2 separate regions of the Homo sapiens genome follow, and region 1 is linked to region 2. Evidence: promoter capture Hi-C in 16 types of primary human blood cells and fetal thymus (Javierre and others, 2016). All regions are on one chromosome and are shown on one strand. The core of a region is centred on a gene start or on the middle of the fragment in contact, and the rest is flanking DNA. Distances in the headings are between cores, read along the strand shown. Region 1 has its middle 13 kb from the start of LINC01918. Region 2 holds the start of GPR45 (G protein-coupled receptor 45).

The links. The method cuts DNA at HindIII sites, captures the fragments that hold promoters and counts their contacts. A CHiCAGO score of 5 or more calls a contact.
Region 1: a contact is called between a fragment that was not itself captured here and the fragment with the promoter of GPR45 in region 2, in 2 of 17 cell types (naive B cells and total B cells). The highest score is 6.1, in naive B cells.

The regions. Positions count from the first base shown.
Region 1 is chr2:105,128,840-105,133,429 of GRCh38, reverse strand. No RefSeq gene overlaps it. Among named protein-coding and RNA genes, the nearest start is that of LINC01918, 13 kb to the left of the region's middle. The HindIII fragment of the contact is 706 bases long and covers 1,617-2,322 here.
Region 2 is chr2:105,239,582-105,244,489 of GRCh38, reverse strand. It overlaps GPR45 (G protein-coupled receptor 45), which reads right to left and starts at 2,747. Exons shown (of 1, transcript NM_007227.3): 1 at 1,023-2,747. The coding sequence starts at 2,631. The coding sequence ends at 1,513. The HindIII fragment of the contact is 10,787 bases long and covers 1-2,958 here.

The sequences.
Region 1 (4,590 bases), core at 720-3,219, 110 kb after region 2:
TTGTTACATTCTGATTATTGTTATTATAGTCATCCTTGTAGGCATGAAGTGGTATCTCATTGTGGCTTTGATTTGTGTTTCCCTAATGACTTAAGATATTAGGTATATTTTCATGTGCTTATTGGCCATATATATATTTCTTTGGAGAAATGTCTATTCAAGTCCTTTGCTGTTTTTTAATTGTGTTGTTTGTCTTTTTATTGTTGAGTGTTAAGAGTTCTTTATATATTCAGGATATTAATCCTCATCAGATAAATAATTTCCAAATATTTTCTTCTATTCCATAGGCTGTTTTTTTACCCTCTTAACAATCATCCTTAGATGGAAAAAGTTGTACAGTTTGATGAAGTCCAATTTATTTTTTCATTTGTCACTTATGCTTTTGGTCAGTCAGAGAAGGAGCTGTGATGACAGAAGTGGAGGTTGGAGTAATACCACTCCTGGGAAAGGGTCATGAGCAGAGGAAAGCAGATGCCCCTAGAAGCTGAAGAATACAAGGAATGGATTCTCCCCTAAAAGCCCAGTGCCCAATCCAAGGTTATGAAGACTCACCCCTATGTTTTCTTCTAAGATTTTTTTTTTTTTTTTTTTTGAGACGGAGTCTCGCTGTCGCCAAGGCTGGAGTGCAGTGGTGAGATCTTGGCTCACTGCAAGCTCCGCCTCCCAGGTTCACGCCATTCTCCTGCCTCAGCCTCCCAAGTAGCTGGGACTACAGGCGCCCGCTACCATGCCTGGCTAATTTTTTTGTATTTTTAGTAGAGACGGGGTTTCACCGTGTTAGCCAGGATGGTCTCGATCTCCTGACCTCGTGATTCGCCCACCTCGGCCTCCCAAAGTGCTGGGATTACAGGCGTGAGCCACCGCGCCCGGCCTCTTCTAAGATTTTTATAGGTTTCTTTCTTATATTTAGATCATTGATCTTTTTTGAGCTAAGTTTTATTTATATGTGAGGTAGGGGGTCTAACTTCATTCTTTTGAATGTGGAAATCCAGTTGTCCCAGCACCATTTGTTGGAGAGACTATTCTTTCCCCATTGACAGAGTTGGCACCTTATCAAAAATCAATTGGCCACACATGTATGATTAATTTCTGGACTCTCAATTCTATTCCATTGGTCAGTGTGTCTATCTTTATGCCAGTACCATATTGCTTTGATTACTTTAGCTTTATAGTAAGTTTTGAAATCAGGAGATGTGGGTCTTCCACCTTTGTTCATTTTTTCCAAGATTGTGTGGCTATTTGGGGTCCCTTGCAATTACATATAAATTTGAGGGTTGGCTTTCCCAGTTCTGCAAAGAACACTGTTGGAATTTGAACAAGGATGGTGTTAAATCTCTAGATTGCTTTGGGTAGTGTTATTATCTTAACAATATTAAGTCTTTCCATCTAGAACACGGGATGTCTTTTCATCTATTTAGATCTCCCTTCTTTCAACATGTTTTTTAGTTTTCAGTGTGCAAGTCTTTCACTTCCTTGGTTAATTTTATTCTCTGGTATATTATTCCTTTTAGGTCATTATAAGTGAAACCATCTTCTTAATTTTCTTTTTGGATTGTTCATTGCAAGTGTTTAGAAACAAAACTGATTTTTATGTGTTGATCTTGTACCCTGAAGCTTTGCTGAATGTATTTATTAGCTCTAGTAGCTTCCATGTAGATTCTTTGGAATTTTCTATATGTAGGATTATGTTATCTGAAAATAGAGACAGTTTTACTTCTTCCTTTGCAATTTGGATGACTTTTATTTCCAAAATATATAATTAGATCAACATATTTAGCAGTTGATGCAGCCCTCACTTTGGGTCCTTGGCCTGTGGGGTAAGAGGTACTGCGAGAATGGCCAAGTGGAAACCTCTGAAACTGCCCACCTTTCCACCCAGACAAGATAGTTGGTCATAAATAATATTGCATGAGGTGGTGGCAATGCAGATATTAGGGACACTTTTAAGAGTGTAAAGGATACAGAGATTGTAAGCCCTATCATATCTCCTTTTGATCACCAGTTAAACTGGTTGGATCCTGGAGGAAGACTATAGATATACCACAGGTTCAACCAAGTCATGCCCTGATTGCAGCTGCTGCATTAGGTGAGGTGGCTTTGCTAAAGCAGGGTGATGGCCTTAGTCTCTTTGAGCTGCTTTAACAAAATACTTTAAACTGGGTAGCTTGCAAGAACAGAAATTTATTTCTCACAGTTCTGGAGGCTGAGTAGTCCGAGATCAAAGCATTGGCAGATTTGGTATCGATTCACTTTCTGGTTCATAGATGGTGCTTCTCACTGTGTCTGTACATTGTGGAAGAGGCAAGGAGTCTCTCTCAAGCTTCTTTTATTAGGGCACTAACTAATCTCATTCATGAGGGCTCTGCCTTCATGACCTAATCCCCTCCCAATGGCTGTACCTCCTAATGCCATCGCTTTGGGTGTTAGCGTTTCAACATATGAATTTTGGGTAGACATAAATATCCAGAATACAGCAGCGATTCAAAATGAGGCACATGCTATGCAGCCATTGATCCAGCAAATGTGTTATTTTCTATCACAATTAGAAAAAGAGGATCAGAAATAGTTCACTTTCACATGGAACAGACAACAATATACATATACAGTTTCCCCTGAGGTTATGTTAACTCACTCTCTGTTGTAATGTTGTCTGAAGATATCTGCACTATCTGGACCATCTGCATTGATCCATTACATAGCTGACATCATGTTGACTGGGCTAGATAAGCAGGAGGTGGCTAGGACATTGGAGGCCTTGGTAAGGCACATGTGCTCCAGAAGGTGGGAGAAAAACCCCTACAGAGATTTGAGGACTGGCCACATTGGTAACATTTTTAGGGGTTCTATGGACAGAAACATGCTGGAACATCCCTTCAAAATGAAAGACAAATTATTCCATCTTGCACCTCTCATGGTGAAGAAGGAAGTATAATGCATGGTGGACCTCTCTAGTTTTTGGAGGGGGCCTGTGTCATGGCATCTTCTATACCACTTCTGCCCATGTACTAGTAACATAAATTTCTCCCAGCTTTGAGTGGGGCCCAGAATGAGAAATGGCTCTGCAGTGGGTCTAGGCTTCAGGGCAAAAATTTATGCCACTTGGACCTTACGGTATTGGAAATATCAATGTAGGAAAAGATGATGTGTGGAGTTTGTGACAGGGTCCAATGGAAGAATCTTGTCACAAGACCCTGAGGTTCTGTAATGAGGCCATGCTGTCTTTTGACAAGCATCTTCTGCTATGCCACTACATCCTGGTAGAGTCACGTCTCCTGACCACAAAACAGCAAGTGACCAGTGACCAGGCAGGAAGAATTACCTATCACGAGCTGGTTCCTGGCAGACTCCCCAAGTCATAAGGTTGGGTGGACTCATAAGCAATCCTCTGTAAGATGTTAGATGCATTCAGGCATTCCAGACTCAAGGGAATGCATGCGCAAACGTTCCAAACCTCGATGACATCTACCTCTGTTGTACCAGTTCCCCTAATCTCAATTCACATCTATGGCCCTGTGTGTGTGTGTGGGTCCTTTACAACCACAAGAAAGAGGAAGAGAAAGCCTGAGCTGGGGCTGCAAATGGGTTGGCTTGGTATGTGGGTGGAAGCTGCAAATGGATATCAAGTACACTACAGCCTATGCTGCAACAACTACTACTTTCAAGGGTGACCTTGAAAGACAATGGCAAGGGAAAATATTTGCAAAGGCCAGAGCTTTGAGCAGTATACTTTATCAATGACATTGTATGAGAAGGGAAGTAGCATGAGTTAGAATATATATTGACTCCTGGGCAATGGTGAATGGCCTGGTTGACTGGTTAGGAGCCCAAAAGGAAGAAGATTGGAATATCACGTACAAAGAAGTCTAGGGTAAAGTCATGTGGATGGATGTGTGGGAGGCATCATGAAGAATGAAGATAATTGTAAAACATGTTGTCTTCCATAAGAGTGCATCCACCTTGGAAGAGACACTAACTTGTCAACATTACTGATATTTTGGGCCATATAATTCTTTGTTGTGGGGACTGTCCTGTGCATTGTAGGATGTTTAGCAGCATCTTTGGTCTGTATCAACTAGACACCACTAGCACCCTCCCACTTGTGACAACCAAAAATGTCTTAGGCATTACTAAATGCCCTCAAAAGAAGGGTGGGCAAAATCGTCTCAGTTGAGAATCATTGTGCTAAACAACCAAATAGACAAAATGAGTCAAATATTTGATGGCCAGCCAGTCTCTATCACTAGCCACTCCACTGCTGGCATGGTGAGCACATGAATTAAATGGCCAAGGCAGCAGAAATGGAGGGTACACATGGGTAGAATAGCATAGATTCCTACTTACCAAGGCTGTTCTTGCCACAATCTCTGCCAGGTATCTGACCTGCCAGCAACACACACGGACAATAGGCCCTAATATGGTACCACTCCTCAGAGTCCAGTTGGTCAGTTGGCAAGATGATTACACTGGACGTCTTTCTTTCTGGAAGGGTCAATGGTTCATTTTCACAGGAAAGATACACATTCTGGATCGAAGTTTGCCTTTCCCGTTCATGCGGCCTTGGCACCACCATCATAGGCTTACATGGTGTTT
Region 2 (4,908 bases), core at 1,498-3,997:
GGATGAATAAATGAATGCAGGGGATCTGATGACTACAGACAGAAAACACACATTTCAGAATCAGAGTGTTTGAGAGATGAAAGGGGACATTGGAAATCATCTAGATCTGCTTCCTCATTTGGCATATGGGGAAACTGAGGCCCACAGAAATGAGAAACGATCAAGGTCAAATGACTAGTTCCTGATAGAGTCAGACCTGGAATCAGATTTTCTAAATCTCTCCTTAAATTTCCCACCCTCTTCAGATCTGGAACAATAAAGAGAGCTCAGTGGGCTCAGTGCTATGCCCTGGACTCAGGACCCTCATATGCCAGTGTGGGGACCCCTGGTGGTGGCCGAATAGAGCACAAGCAGAGAAGCCCCCTTTGGGCAACTTCACTTCTGGGATCTGGTCCCAGTAGGTAAACAGGATGGCAGCAGTGGATCTGAATGAGGTAGGAGGAACACAGAGACCAGTGGGGACCCCGAGAATTGGGCTCGTTGGTGTGGCACCTGCAGCGGGTCCAGTGCTGAAGTGGATTTGGTGGGTTGAAGGGCTCTGGAGCTCCAGGGTGTCCAAAGGAAATGTGTAAACTAAGCCCAGCCTGCTCACTGCTGACACTGAAAGCAGGTCACTACAGATGCTTGCTCAGCGGGTGAGCTATAGCACACTGGATATGGATGGGAGGAAAACGAAGGGAGGCAGGGAGAGGGGTGGAGGAAAGAGGGAAGGGCCAAGGGGCTCTCCAGCAGACAGGGAGGCCTAGTGGCCTCAGGGTGCAGGGACGGGGTGGGCCCAGCAGGTGGGGGGCGCTGGGGACATGCAGGAGTTCCCGGATGTGCTTCTCACTTCAGCTGGGCTGCCCAGGACCTTCTCTGGGCTTCAAGCCTCTGAGGCCTCCCATGCGTCATTGCAGGGAGCTCAAAGCACAGAGGCTCACTCTGCTTCCCCGTGTGATTTTGGTTTCTTTCTAGAAAAGATACTTAGGCATGGGAAGAAATGCACATCTGATCAACATAAAGAACCTCATGTGAGTCCCCACACACCACAAACATCAATAGCTGAAGAACCCTGGTGTCAAACAAAATGAATGAACACCCAGGAGCTCACACCTACTGGGGTTTCTCAGGGTTTCTCTTGAGCAGGTGCAGAGAGGGCTCGCAGGGCAGGTTGAAGCTCTTGTGACTGACCAGTCCTCCTGCCCCACACTCAACCAGCTTCATTCCCTGTTGCCCTCCTCCTCCCTTTCTGCCCAACTTCTGCACTCCCCAGCCCACTCCATTTTTGACTTAATGACGTTGCAGTTCCCATCAGCCCCATATTTGGCTCTCTGCAAAGAGAAACAAAAATAATTCATCGTGCCAAAATTTGAAATTTGGGAGCTGCAGCTCATCTGATTACAAATGAGTACCTTTGTGCTTAAATTGCCACCACAAAGTGCAGACTATGACCAACATGCCAGGGAACAGAGCAGGACAGATCCACCCTGGGACTGGGGCTCAGCTGCCCCTTCTCTGTGGCCCCCTGACCCCCTAAACCGCAGACTGGTTTTCATTGCACACGTAGACTGTGCTTGGCTGGATTCTCCTTCGGATCCGCTCAGGCACTTTGGGGAGGATTTGGAAGGTCTGGGGCAGCAACTCTATGCAGGCCTCGCGGAATTTTTTGATTCTCCAGCAGTAGACGATGGGGTTGAAGACGGACTTGAGGTAACTGAGCCACAGGACGCAGGTGCTGGTGGCGTAGAAGGAGGAACCGCAGTAAAAGCGCTGGCTAAACACAGACAGGAGGCTGTAGACGGAGTGGGGCAGCCAGCAGAGGGAGAAGCCCACGAAGAGGATCAGGATGGTGGTGAAGGCCTTGGTCTTGAAGCTCAAGTCCACGCTGACCTGTTGCTGCCGCTGCAGGCGCCGCAGGCCCGCCCTGGTGAGCTGCCGCAGGTCCAGGCTGTCCGACTGGTTGTGCACGCGCACGGCGTTCTTGCGGACCGTGTTGAGGATGCACATGTAGGCGCACAGCATGACGCCAAAGGGCGCGAAGAACACGGCCACCACCAAGGTGACCACGTAGGCGCGGTCAGCGGGGAGCTCCGTGTAGCCCAGCACGCACTGTGGGGCCCGCGCCGGCACCTCCACCAGCGTCCAGCCCGTGAGCGAGGGCCCCGCGATGCAGAAGGACAGCACCCAGGAGACCGCGATGATCACCTTGGCCCTGCGCGGGTTCAGCTTGTCCTGGCGCTGGACGATGATGAGGAAGCGGTCCACGCTGATGATGAGCAGGATGGCCACGCCCTCCAGGACAAAAAACCAGTAGAGCGTGGCTGAGAGGCGGCAGAAGTGGTCCCCAAAGTGCCAGCGCACGGTGATGAGGGTGACGGCGGTGAAGGGCATGCAGCAGAGGGACAGCATGATGTCGGAGAAGGCCAGGGTGGCCAGCAGCAGGTTGATGGCCGAGCGCATAGCCGGCCTCTGGTACACGATGATGCAGACCACAGTGTTGCCCAGGAACCCCACCACGGTCATCAGCAGCATCACTATGGCCAAGGAGATCCTGAGGGGTGCGGGCAACTGGGTGGACCCCGAGTCTGAGGCGTTGCTGGTGTTCAGCAGCAGGTATGTGTAAGCCTCAAGGGACGTGCTGTTGCAGGCCATCGTGGAGAGACCCTTGGAGCTGGGACAGAAATGGCCGGGAGGGCTCCCCTCAGCACTTGGGTGGCTGCCATTCTTTGTCTGCTGGCTGCATCTTCCTGGATGTCTGTGGACCTCTGGGGCACTGGAATGGTCTTGGGGAGAAATGTCCGTCTTTGTGAGCACTAGCTGGGATTTGCGATTCATGGATCACATCCTAAGCATCTCTGTGGAGAGCGACTCTGTGCACAGCTTCGTGCTTGGACCCTCTGTAGTGGACAGCAAGCAAAAGTACAAAAGAGAAGGGGGTTAGAGTTTCCAAACGCGTTGAAGAAAGCACGCGTTTAAGCTTTACAGGTGTTTCTAAACAAGTTTATTTACCACGTGGGACAAAGCTTGATATTCACAAATACTGTCTGAGTCTTGTCAAGCAGCCCAGAAAAACCTAATCAGCTATCTTCTGAGGAAACTGAGGAAGTACACTTTGTAGTTAGTGTTTATGTAATAACTTGAGTTTTCAGCAACCTGTCGGAATGAAGCCTTGGTCTAGCCAACTAACGTTAGAATCCTGCTCCACAAGAGAAAGGTTTTGCTTGTTTCATTCTCTGCTATCTCCCAGTACTGACAACAGTGGCTGGCATGCAGTAAGTGTCCTTGTTGAGGACACTTGGATGCTTGTTGAGTAGATGAATAAGTGATAGTTGATGCTGCTGCTATAATATTTGTTTAGCTTTAAAAAACCCCACTTCATCGAGGAATGACTGACATGTCAAAAGCTGTACAAATTTACATCTCAATATACCAGAAACCCATCACCACCAAGGCCAAAAACATATCCCACTCCCCCTGCCAAAGCTCTCTCCTGCCATTTTTCTAGTATTATCATTTTGTTTTGGTGGTAAGAATACTTCACCTAAGATCTGCCCTCTTAGCAAATTTTAAGTATACATTTTTAAGTTTTAATTTTTTAAAAGAAATTGTAAGTCTGTTTGTTTAACTTTATTTGATAAGTGTAAATTCACATGGATAAGTGTAAATTCACATGGAGTTATAATAATAAATACTATGGTGAAATTCTGTGTGTCCTTCACCCAGTTTTCCCTAATGGTAACATCTTGGATAACTGTGGGGCTGCTATACTATTACTTCTGGAAGCACAGACTGGGAGAAGGGAACTTTCCCCAAAGGTAAGGCCTTTTAAAATACAATGTTAGCTGGGTGCAGTGGCTCATGCCTATAATCCCAGCACTTTGAGAGGCAGAGACAGGAGGATTGCTTGAGGCCAGGAGTTCAAGACCTGCCTGGGCAACATAGAGAGATCCCATCTCTACACACACAAAAAAATGAGCCAGGCTTCCATCTATAGTCCCTGCTACTCAGGAGGCCGAGGCAGGAGGATTGCTCAAGCACAGAAGTTCGAGGCTGTCGTGAGCTAAGAAGGTGTCACTGTACTCCAGCCTGGGTAACAGAGTGAGACCCTGTCTCTTAAAAAAAAAGTAAATGAAATGAGCTTTTATTCCTTACATTCTTGATAAACTTGCTTTCACTTTCAAAAAGATAAATATAATTTTAATTTTGTCTCACTGATGTGGCAAGAGTGTGTTCAGTAGCTCAGGTCTGAAGTCACATCGCCTGGGCTGGGGGAAATCCAGCCTGCGCCATTTATCCACCCTGGACATCTGGCTGTTGGATGCACCTCTTCTTGTAAGAAATTTCTCTTTTCTAAATTCCTTGTGGTCATTGTTACAGATAACTCACACTGAGAGGAATGTGGGCAATGTAAGAAGCCAGGAGGCCTCAGAGCAGGCTTAGAGGACCTGGGAGTGGCAGTGTCTTGGTGATGCTATACTTCAGTTTAGACCCAACCAATCCTTGGTCTTCCTTCCCAAACACACCCAGAATGGGTTCATCTCTCAGTGGTGGGCACCAGTATCCAAACTTTTTCTGAGCTATAAAAATCAGAAACCTGGTGTGTTAATTTATAAGTGGGAATTATCTCTCATTCAGACCAAAATTATGACCCTTCTTCATCTCAATTTTCTGATCTGTGAAATGGAGGTAATTACATATTTACCTCCAGAGTTGGTAAATATAATGTGCAATGTCTGGTAAAAGAAGGGCATTAATAAATTAACTCCATCTCCCTCACTGTTTCAAGTTTAGGGGTTTCTGTCTCTTGGATTAAACTGCAAATTTGTTCATGGCAGGAACCATGACATGCATGTAGGAAGCCCTAATGGATTAAGCTCCTCTTGGAGCACAGAATAAAGGACCACTGAGAAAAAACACAGTATCGTGCAT